2 separate regions of the Homo sapiens genome follow, and region 2 is linked to region 1. The links are contacts of gene promoters, found by promoter capture Hi-C in human tissues and cell types (Jung and others, 2019). All regions are on one chromosome and are shown on one strand. The core of a region is centred on a gene start or on the middle of the fragment in contact, and the rest is flanking DNA. Distances in the headings are between cores, read along the strand shown. Region 1 holds the start of RASSF8 (Ras association domain family member 8). Region 2 has its middle 23 kb from the start of MIR4302.

The links. The method cuts DNA at HindIII sites, captures the fragments that hold promoters and counts their contacts. A contact is called where the count stands out against the background at its distance.
Region 2: a contact is called between a fragment that was not itself captured here and the fragment with the promoter of RASSF8 in region 1, in 2 of the 25 tissues and cell types used here (IMR-90 fibroblasts and aorta).

What each region holds. Positions count from the first base shown.
Region 1 is chr12:25,954,357-25,959,959 of GRCh38, reverse strand. RASSF8 (Ras association domain family member 8) reads right to left here and starts at 1,278. Exons shown (of 6, transcript NM_001394098.1): 1 at 812-1,278. RASSF8-AS1 (RASSF8 antisense RNA 1) reads left to right here and starts at 518. Exons shown (of 4, transcript NR_038228.1): 1 at 518-634; 2 at 3,196-3,321; 3 at 3,613-3,733; 4 at 4,719-5,306. RefSeq lists silencers at 667-716, 857-906, 977-1,076, 1,177-1,666. The HindIII fragment of the contact is 6,427 bases long and covers 1-4,730 here.
Region 2 is chr12:25,848,317-25,854,373 of GRCh38, reverse strand. No RefSeq gene overlaps it. Among named protein-coding and RNA genes, the nearest start is that of MIR4302, 23 kb to the left of the region's middle. The HindIII fragment of the contact is 8,335 bases long and covers 1-6,057 here.

The DNA of each region.
Region 1 (5,603 bases), core at 29-2,528:
ATCCCTAAAGATCAGCAACAATATTGACCCGCAATTATATATCCTACGTTGCACTGTTCAAGATGCCATTTGAGGCTGGGAAAGTAGTGGTTTAGCAACACCAGGCGGCTCTATGATGCTAAAATAACAACGCAACACTGGATTCCGAACCCAAGTACTCATCTTTTAAAACCCAGTGCCGCACCAGGACCCACATTCAAAGCTCGCGTCCCTTCAAGTTGAATCTTCCGGCTTTGTGCGATTTACCCTCTCAAACTTTCTAGTTTGCAAGTCAGAATTACTTTGAACGTCCCCTCTTCTGGACTCCCCTCCCCAAAGGGACTGGCGGCAAAGGAGAATAGAATGCAGATGGTTAATAGTTCAAATGAAATTTAAAAACCTATAAACCAATATTTTTTTAGAGGAGAAAAGCGTTCACCAAACCGCCACCCGGCAAGCGAGCATCCGATTTCCATCCGGAGGAAAAAATATTTTAAAAACCAGACATAAAATTCCCTTTGCAAGAAAAGTGGCCTCTAAACTCCCTTGCCAAGGACACTGGGAGGAAGCAGAAAAGCAAAGACCAAGCTCGTACTTTTCAGTCCGCGGCTTGTGTGCCGCGAGGAGAGGCGCAAAGGGTGACACACCAGGAAAGGTGAACGCAGAGGGAGCGGGAGCCCGCGGCGGGGCAGGGTGGGGGCGGAACGGACGAGGTACCCAAGGTGCGGAGAGAGGGGCAACCGGGCGGAGGGCAGCTCCGAGGCTGCAGGCGGGACGGGCGGGGTCCCCGGCGCAGCCCGGATCGCCGCCGCTAAGTAAAGTTAATACTTACTCAGTTTCGCAACTGCGCCGCCCCCGCAGGCCGCCCAGAGGGGCCGGCCGGGGCGCTGGGGACGCGGCGGCACCCGGAGCTCCGCGGCCGCCCAGCGCCCGTCCCCGCGCCGCACTCCCCGGCACTCCCCGGCGCTCCCCGCGCCGCGCGCCCCGCACCGGCTGGAGGCCCCGGCCCCCCGGCGTTCCCTCTCCGCGCACCTCCCGGCCCGCGCTAGGTGAGTGTGGACGCCACTGGCGGGGGTGCCGCGGTGCGCGAGCGCTCGGCCAGCGGCAGAGACGCCGCGGGAGCCGCCCCCAGCGCCAACGCCGCCGCGGGCGGGAAGGGCGAGGCTCGGCGAGGCTGGGCGAGGAGCTGGGCGGCAGACGCTGAGCGGGGCGCGGCGCGGGGCGCCGGACGAGCGCGGGCGTAGGAGGAGCGCGGGCGTAGGAGTCGGCGACCCGCTCGCTCCCGCGGCCGGTGCCTCTGGGCTGGGGGCCGGGCTGGGGGCCGGGCCGGGCCGGGCCGGGCCGGGCGGCCAGGCGGCTCCGCCCCTTCGCCGGGCAGCGGCTGAGCGCGCGAGAGGAGCGGCGCGGGGGCGCCCCCCTCGGCCGGGCGCTCGGGTTTCAGCCGCCGCTCCTCCGCGCCCCGCCCGCGCCTGGCCCGCTCGCCGGCGCCGGGAGAGACCTCGTAACGGAACTGGGACGCCAGCGCTGCATTGTGGGAGCTTTTAAAGCGGCGGGGAGCTCGGCGCGACCCTCGGGCCCACCGGGCCACGCTCGCCCGGCCCGCGACGCCCCCCCGCTGTCGCCTGGCCCGCGACGCACCGAGGCCTGAGGACCCGAAAGCCGGGCGCGGGGAGATGACCGGTGGCTCGTGACGGTCCCACGGGCAAAATCTTCCATCGCCCGGGGCTGAGACTTGTCAAACTGCCCTCTACGGTCACCCGGAAAGTAGGAGGCTTTTTCTGCAGAGGGGAAAAAAATCAAAAAGAGCCGTTCCATCCCCCCTCCAAGGACTGGGTTTGAATTGCTTTTCATCTGCAGTGGCTGTGATTCAGCGTCCCTCTTAGCAGCAGGCAATGACAGAGGCAGGAGAGGGGAAAAAAAAAAAGAAAGAAAGAAAAAACACAGCAAATGAATCAAACGGACGTGAGTAACAAAAGTTTAGAAAGAGCTGGGCTCGTATTCAGAAAAAACGCCTCATCCCCCCGCCCCGCTGCACTCCCAACCCCTTTAAAAATAGCAGATAATCAAGAAAGGAAACGGGTGCTTTCATATGGAAATACAGATGTGTATGTTGTTTTCAATATTCTACTGTTTTTTTGTGTGTGGCATGCAATTACTCAGGCACTGGGCAAAATTCAGCCTTTGGATTTTGTGGTCACACATACCCCAACTCCGCAACAGCTATTAATTTGCAGGGCGATGGGGTGCGGATAGTGGATGAGATACAAGAAAGCATTCCAATTAAAATGCCCCCCCCCACCCCGCCTTTTAATTTTCCAGACACTTGCTTTTATTTTTCTTTTTTTAAACATCATCAAAACAAGAATATTAAACTTGAAGCAGAATTTGTTACAGCGTATCTGACTCAGGACCTGATTTAAGGTTTGGGGTTTTTTGGCCCTTTGTTTCTTCCTCTTGTTTTTTGACCTTTAGTTACTCCACACCTCATTAGTTCCTTGACCTGCAGGTGGACTGAGAAGAGAGCCATGGTAAGACTCAAATTTGTCAAATCAACATTTGGAGAGGAGAAAGTTCACTGTGATTCAAATGCAAAACCAAAGGGAATATGATTTAAAAGTCAACCTGGAGGGCATGGATCCTCCCTTAACCCTACTTGACTCTTTTCAAAGGAGTTGCCTAGCCTTAAGGTGAATGTTTCCTAACCTCTCATTCCCTTCTCAGCCTTTCACTCCACTGAACAACATCAGCCATTGCTTAATTGCCAAATCTAATGGAAAAATTTAATTCCCATCTTGTGCCCTTTGTGGCATTTGCCAATGTTGACCTCTCCTTCTTAGAACTTTCTGCCTTTTGGCCGGGCGCGGTGGCTCATGCCTATAACCCCAGCACTTTGGGAGGCCAAGGCTGGCAGATTGCCTGAGGTTGGGAGTTCGAGACCAGCCTGACCAACATGGAGAAACCCCGTCTCTACTAAAAATACAAAATTAGCCGGGCATGGTGGCACATGCCTGCAATCCCAGCAACTGGGAGGCTGAGGCAGGAGAATCGCTTGAACCTGGGAGGCAGAGGTTGCAGTGAGCCGAGATCACGCCATTGCACCCCAGCCTGGGCAACAAGAGCGAAACTCCATCTCAAAAAAAAAAAAAAAAAAAAAAAAAAAACTTTCCTCCTTTCTTTGGCTGTGGTAGTGATCCCTCTTTTGTGTACTTCTTGAAGCAGGTAGCAGGCAAGAGTGTGGTTATCGTTGGACCAGGATTCAGGATCTGACTGAGTAGCTGACTCTTAATCCAGTTTGTGTTGATCACCAGGAGGATCTGGACCTCAGTATTACCACATCTAGAGGTGAGCAAGTTGACTGACTCTTGATAACTAACTCTTATATGATGAGCATTTATATCAGGACAGAACTTCCTGATTGGATAACAATACCTACTATTTAGGAAAAACCCTTCCTAAAAATCCAGGTATCCTCACCTCCAGTCTTACTGATGGCTGCCAAAGTCAGTGAATTTGCCTCCATTCAGTGCTGGATAAGTGCAGAAAAATCTTTACCCTACCTAGCCCATTTGGTTAATGCGTTCTTTCTTCAGAGTGTAGTACAATTTGTTTTAAGCTTTTTTTTTTTTTTGGTAGCTATAATCACATCCCTGTTAAGCCTTCCTGAGATCACACCAAATGTCCTTGATGGGAATTGTAAACAACCCTTACTTCTGGTTTCTAATGATATTCCAGGAAAGGAGCCTAACTAGAGTCAGTGAGTATTCATGCACTTCAAACCCTGTGACATAATAAGATTTGATTTTTAAGAAAACAACTTGAGAGGATGGATTCAGAAAAGAGGCAGATCCAAGGGAGAGTCTAAACTGGAGAGCAGTGGCAATGAACAGGAGGAGGCCATATCGAGAGATGAATTGATCATCTTATAGACCTGGAGGTCAGAAATCTAAAATCAAAGTGTGGGCTGTGTTCCTTCTGGAGGATCGAGGGGAGAATCCATTTCCTTGCCCTTTTCAGCCTCTAGATGCCACCTGCATTCCTTGGCTTATAGTCCCTTTCTCTATGTTTAAGGCCAACTGCATAGCATCTTCCCCCATTTCTTTGTAACTTCTGCTTCATGGTGATGGGGACATCTCTCTCTCTGATCGTAGGAATTGATTTAGATGCTTTTCTAGCCATATGTATTATGAACTAAATGCAGTTGAATTACTTATGGGAGGAAATGGCAGGTGACCTCATTACTTGTCAAATCATCGTTAGATAACTGACTTGACTGTTAAGATTGCTGAAGCAGTGATTTATTACCTCAGCTAAATCTGTATCAATCTGGTGACCCGTGTAACTGAAACCAAGATGTTAACACTGTAAGAAAACCTAGCTTATGTTTGCAGCTCCTGAGAATAAATCCCTTTATCTTGAAATACCTGGAAATCCCTTTTTAATGTCCAGTGGAGTCATATTGCCAAGTTTGAGAAATGTGTCTAGACCAGTATTTCCCAAACAGCCCACCAGACAACACCAGCCTGTAAGATGGTGATATTGTTTGGATGTTTTTTCCCTCCAAATTTCGTGTTGAAATGTGACCGCCATGTTGGAGTTGGACCTAGTGGAAGGTATTTGGGTGATGGGGAATCTCTTGTGTGGCTATGTACCTTCCCTGCAGTAATGAGTTCATGAAAGATCTGGATGTTTAAAAGAGTCTGTGATCTTCCTCCTCTCTCTCTTGCTCCTGTTCTTGCCAGGTGATATGCCAACTCCACCTTTGCCTTCCACCATGTTTGGAAGCTCCCTGAGGCCTCACCAGGAGCAGATGCTCGTCCCATGCTTCCTATAAGCCTGCAGAACTGTGAGCCATAATAAACTGTGAATTATAAATTGCCTTTATAGCAATGCAAATGGACCAGTACAGATGGGATGCTGGGAAGACAGTTGTTTCCACCTTCAGTAAAGTCCGTGGAACACAGTTGTGACTATATTCTAGGCCAGCCAAGATGCTTGTACTCAGAAAGGAGTGGTCTCAGGACCATAAGAAAGTGAAAAAATAAAAATAAGAAAATAAAGAAGGGATTGTCAATGAATCAGAATTCATCAAGGTCAAAGTCTTAGGAAATTCCTTCATGAGGAAGTCTAGGGGGGCTATGGAAATGAAATTTTTAAACAAATAGGTATGTGGTGCTGGCAGGAATAAATTATGGACTTATGAATATAACATAAGATTCTTTATTACCTGGTCTCACCCGTCTTTCCACCTCTGCCCCCCTTCTTGCCCGACTCTGTGTATCACCCATAATAAACTACTTACAGCTTCCTAGTGTTAAATTTACCCTAAAGCTGCCTCCTTCAATATTTTAAGTTTAACCTAAAGGTTCTTCATACATAGTGAACTATAACCCAATGATTAAACAGATTGTAACCTACTCTTGTACCAGTCACCAAGTTTCAGCCAATCAGAGGTGGCCAACTGTTCAAACCATGCTCAAATAAGGGAAATGTCATGGTGTAACTAATCCAGCTGTTTCTATACCTTACTTCTGTTTTCTTAGGTCACTTTCCTTTTTTGTCCATAAATTCTCTCCAACCACTCAGCAGCACTGGAGTCACTCCAAAGCTATCCTGGTTCAGGGGTC
Region 2 (6,057 bases), core at 1,673-4,172, 110 kb after region 1:
GGCTGAGGCGGGAGGATTGCTTGAACCCAGTTTGAGGCTGCAGTGAGCTATGATTTTACCACTGCACTCAGCCTGGGCAGCAGAGTGAAACCTTGTCTCATAAAACAAACAAACAAACAAAAAAACTGCACAAGCCTTTTAAATGATTTATATTGTTAAGTCTTTGCACAAGCCTTTATTAAATCATTCATTTTGTTAAAATGAAAACCTTAGACAAATTAAATTGAACAGAGTTTAATTGAGCAAAGAATGATTTGTAAATCGGGCAGTCACCAGAAGCACAGCAGATTCAGACAGACTCTTGTGCAGCCACATGGTGGAAGAAAATTTATGGACAGAAGAAGGGAAGTTATATCCGGAAAATGGAAGTGAGGTACAGAAACAGCCAGATTGATAACAGCTCAGCATTTGCCTTATTTGAACCTGGTTTGAACAGTTGGCCACCTTTGGCTGAAACTTGGTGATTGGCACAAAAGTAGGTTCTGGTCTGTTTACACATCCAGTTGGGTTACAGTTCACTGTGGACGAGAAACCTTTAGGCTGAACTTAGAATATGTAAGGAGGCAGCTTTAGGTGAAATTTTATTTAATAATATCATTTTACAATAATATAGTATGAGTATATATCTTAAGCAACTTGTCAGATTACCCAGAGCATTCTGTGCTGTCTGGGGAATATACGGATAGATACACTGAAGGCTCCCAATTGAGAGGGCTCCTTCTCCTGGTCCTCCTTGTCTCCCTCCACATGGAGTGTGTGCTTACCAAGAGTCAGTTCAGTTTGTACTCAAACCTGATTATGTTGGTTGTATTTGATCTTTCAAAGCACGTAGTTGAATTAAATATAATTAGGCTGATGAAATATGAAGTGTGGAGTGACAGAGAGTTGCTGTTTCTTGAAAACTTACTTTAATACTTTGGAAATACTATAAACATGAGATGCTAAAACAAGTGCTGTTAGAATAGATATGAGCAAGGCAACTGTATAAGACTCAGGAAAAATCACAGAAATCTAAATGGTTTTAGTATTCAGCCACTTCCACAGTGGTGGTACATTCTTTCTCTATTTTAAATAAACTAAAACTAGAAATTATTGATGGCATGTTATGGCTATGCAAGAAAGACCATGCAAAGTTCAATCATCAATCAAAGAAAAGGCCTTGACCCTACTTCTAAAATTTGGTGAGTAGTGAATGTATCTTTAAGGGTTTAAAGTTAAAAATTAAACATTTCAGCTATGCATGTGTTATGATTGTCCACTTTTTTTTTTACATTGAGAAACTTAAGGATGAGATTGTCCACTTTAATAGAGTTTTTTGTTTAACCAACTGACCACAGACCTTCCATTGTAAGATTCTTCAGAAAGGGAGGCTGTATCTTGTTTATCTTTGTAATCCCTGTGCATCATACAGCTCTTAGAACACAGTGCACAGTGGATGTGCAAGAAATGTTTATTGAATCATTGTTATGTCAATAGAGTACAGAGTAGCACTTTTTTTTTCCTCTGAGTTGTTATACTGGGCAGTCACTAGACTTTCCACCAAAACTTCAGAAGTGTAGAGTGAAAATGGCACATGGCAAATTGAATTCAGGAACTGAGTTAAGAGAATGGATATCCAAATATGTGGAAGAAGCTGGAAAATCTCATCTTTGGTCAATGTAAGGTCTAGAATGTAAAGAAAATCTAGAGTCAAAGCCATCAGAAAATGACAAAGAAGCAAGAAGAGAAAATTAACATGTTGTGAGTTCCAAGCAAAACTAAGTTCACTTGAAATTTTATGGCCATGCCCTGTTCAACATTTCTCTACTGAACTTAAAGAAGTAATATTCTGAGTGAGCTTTCAGCAGATGAAATTCTGGACACTGTGAAGCTAGATATAATTCTATAGGAGTTTTTTAGTAAAAGAAAAGTGAAAGGTTTCTTGGGAGAAAATAACAAAGCCATTTTAGTTTATGATAAACGGGGGGTGGGGAGCAACTTTACTTAGAAGCATATAATAGACCAGAATTGCCCTAAGTGTATTCCATGAAATACAAGATTGCAATATATTACATTCTCTGTATTGCCTGATATTTATTTTCTTTTTATTTGTTGTTTATTCTGTTTCCCCTTTTGAAGCAATCTCCGTGACAGAATTGGCTTTTCTTGCCTGTCTTGCTCACTGCCACAGGTCCACAGTCTTAAATAGTGCCAGACACATATCAAGGTCCTCATGAAGATTTATTAAATGAAGTTTCAATGAATACATGGAGAAGCAGCAACCTGGAGAGCTCCAGAACAGCCCTGGAGAGCAGGGACAAAGTTTCACAAAGAGGATCACGAATGAAAGCCACTGTGAAGCAGAGAGGGAATATCAATGACCCCTCCCTCCACCCTCACCACCACCAATGGGGTATTTTCATTTATACATTGAAAATAAAATATGCCTGTAATTCCAGCACTTTGGGAGGCTGAGGCATGAGGATCAGTTGAGCTTAGGAGTTTGAAAACAGCCTGGGTAACATGGCGAAACCCCGTCTCTACAAAAAATACAAAAATTAGCCGGGGATGGTGGCATTGGCCTGCAGTTACAGCTACTTGGGAAGCTGAGGTGGGAGGATCTCTTGAGCCCAGGAGGTGGAGGTTGCTGTGAGCAGTGATCACGCCACTGTACTCCAGCCTGGGTGACAGAATCAGACAGACCCTGTCTCAAAATAAATAAACAAATAAAAATAAAAATTAAAAAATTAAAAAAATTTTAAAAATACAGCTCACTTTTTGCCCATTATAAGGCACTGTGGTAGAGGTGGCAAGATTAAGGTATGGATACCTGAGAAACTGGTGGCTTTATTAGAAGCAGAACAGGCATCTCTCAAGGAAAGGTGAAAAATGCTCATTAATTACTTTAATAGAAATTTTTGTCTTCCTGGTTTATAGCAAAAAAAAAAAAAGATTCATTAGCTGGTGAACATAGTTTCAATAATTTTCAAATGCAATTTATAAGACCGTTTCATAGTAGATGTAGGAGTTACTATATCATTCCTCTCTAAATCACTCAAATGAAAAGACAGAATCATTATGCAGTCATTTAAGTATTTTTAACTAAAGAGATTATATTCATATCATAATCTTTCTTAAATGACTGCATTGTGAAACTAAAGGACAAAGGAAAGAGAAAAGAATATTTCATGTCTTTGCATTTATAATTCCGCAGAGAGCACTGGCTCTCAAATCTGCTACAGTCACCTGGGAACTTTAAAAATAAAGCAATGACAAGCCTCATCCCAGGCCAATTAACTCAGAATCTCTGGGGGTGGGGCCCTAGCATCAGCATTTTTTCAGTGTTCCCAGGGTGATTCTTATGGGCAGCTGGGTGAAGGACAATTAATCCAAGAGATGCTATGGAAGGAACAATAGGAAACCACCTTCACTAGCACCCTTTATGAGAGTCAATCTGAACTGCGGTGATAAGCTTGGAACTCAAATCATTTCTGAGGGCTCAAATCTGAATATTCTAAATATGATGTTTTATATGGAACTCTAACTTCTCACAATATTACACATTTTCTTCATTAGGGAATCAATTTACTAACCCAAAAGTTGGTCAAGGAAATAATCCCTTCAGAAAGCATAATGACTGACCATTAGAGACAGAATGTCATTACACATTAGTAATGACTACCCAGCATCTTTTTTTTTTTTTAATTTGAAACAGGGTCTCACTTTGTTGCCCAGGCTGGAGTGCAGTGGTTCTACGTTGGCTCACTGCCACCTCAATCTCCTGGGTTCAAGCAATCCTCCCACCTCAGTCTCCTGAGTAGCTGGGACCACAGGTGCGAGCCACTACACCTGCCTAATTTTTTGTTTTTGTTTTTATAGAGAGGAGATCTTGCTATGTTGCCCAGGGTGCTCTCGAACTCCTGGGCTCAAGCTATCTTTCCACCTGGGCCCCTCAAAGTGCTGGGATTACAGGCATGAGCCACCACACCTGGCCAGACCACTCAGGTTAAAAAAAAAAAAAAATCTTTCTGAAGTAAAGATTGTGACCCATTGAAATAGTTTGTCAAGGGAGGTTGTGAAAATTATTTCTCTACTGGCACTTAAAATTAAAGTCATGTTGTATCTTTTGAGTTGTTTAAATTGAAGTCTGCCTCGTGAAAGGAAGACGGACCAGACAATTTTGGGAAATTATTTTCAAACCAGAGGGTTTACTTTATTTTATTTTTTAATCTATGCTTACACTTTGCTGGAGGAATCTTGACATCTGTTTGGTGGTATCTTGCACGACAGCTCCATGCTCTGTTTTGAGAAAGATGGCCAGCTGACTAACGGGCCATCCAGGACGGACACAGGTGCCCTTTTCACCACTGTTGTGACTATGTGGCCATTTTCAGTAAAGGGACATTTGATTTCTTTATTCTGCTCCTTCCTTCCCTGTCTCACCTTTTCTAACACCACTCTCCATTAGTCCTCTGGGCTACTGTTTTCTCCTTACTCTGTATTGAATACTTACGTGCTAGGAACTCACAACATTCCTGCAAGATTGATACCATCTATTTTACAATCTCCAATTTGTGGATGAGAAAGTGGGGTGTGGAAATGGGAGAAAACTTTCCTAAGTCACTCAGCTGGCGAGTGGTAAAGCCACCCTGGGATCATAGGTTTGTCTGACCCAGAGTCCAGGCTCTCAAGCACTATATTTGCTCTTTCATGCTTCCACTGTGGGTAGAGTCCCAGGCCATACTCTGGGCCGCTGCCCACTACAGTCAGATCCTGCCTACCCAGTCTGTAAAATGGAGCATCTCTGCCCTTTCTTACTTCCCACTATAGGGAGCAGTCCCCCTGACCATGGGTACACACCCAGGATATGTGGCTTCTAGGGAAATCTCCCTAAAGGGGAGCACCCAGGAGAGGCTGGAAAATCAAAGCATACCTGGCTGCCCACAGCCTTTGATTTTGGTAGAAGGACCATTCCAATGGTTCATCTCTCTCAGCAACAATCATTCTTATTCCCCCTGGATAAGGGGTCAGAGTTAGGGTCACCTTCTGGCTATTCCAGTTAGAACTCCCTTCATGCAAAAAGGCTGAACTCCTCTGCCCAAATTTCTCCCATCAGAAGGGCCCAAGAGCCTTCTCCATATTCAGTAGTTCAGATCACCCCACACTTTTATAATCAAATATACATGCATGTGTATATATATATGTATTCACGCATATATATTTGCATTTATATACACATGCATATATATTTGATTATATATACACATGCACACAGACAGTATTTATTTATTTATTTTGTTTTATTATTTTTCTGAGACAGAGTCTTGCTCTCTGTCACCCAGGCTGGAATGCAGTGGCATGATCTTGGCTCACTGCAACCTCCACCTCCTGGGTTCAAGCAATTCTCATGCCTCAGACTCCCCAGTGACTGGGATTACAGGTGTGCACCACCACACCTGGGTAATTTTTATATATTTAGTAGAGATGGGGTTTCACCACGTTGCCCAGGCTAGTCTCGAACTCCTCAAGTGATCCTCCCGTGTTGGCCACCCAAAGTGCTGGGATTATAGGCATGACCACTGTGCCTGGCCATATATACAGTATTTAAAGGCAAGTGATGAATGTTACTTTTGCTTCCTTAAAAGTGTTACAATCCCATGAATAGAAAGTGGCTAGCATTTATCCAGCATAACAACTTTTTTGAATTAGAGCTATTGATTTATTGCATGCATTTACATTATTTACCCTCAAAAGCAAAAAAATCACCCACTCAGAACCTGACTGACTGTGAAGAGAAATAAGTGACATGTTCCTTAAAAAAAAGAGAGAAAGGAAAAAGATTATGTGACTTGTTCTTTATGACGACTAACCTGGTAAATTGGTCCCCTAATGGCCTAAAGGTGTCAAAAAATTTACAACATATAGTATAAATATTTCGAGGCTCAGAATATCTGGCTCTGTGAATCGCTTTACACTCCAATCTGTTCTCATTTGCATCTGAAATAATAGTGTTTACCTCAAAAGCAGTAGATCTTGTCTGAAGAGGCTCACGTATCAAGAGTTCTTTAAAGAACTTGT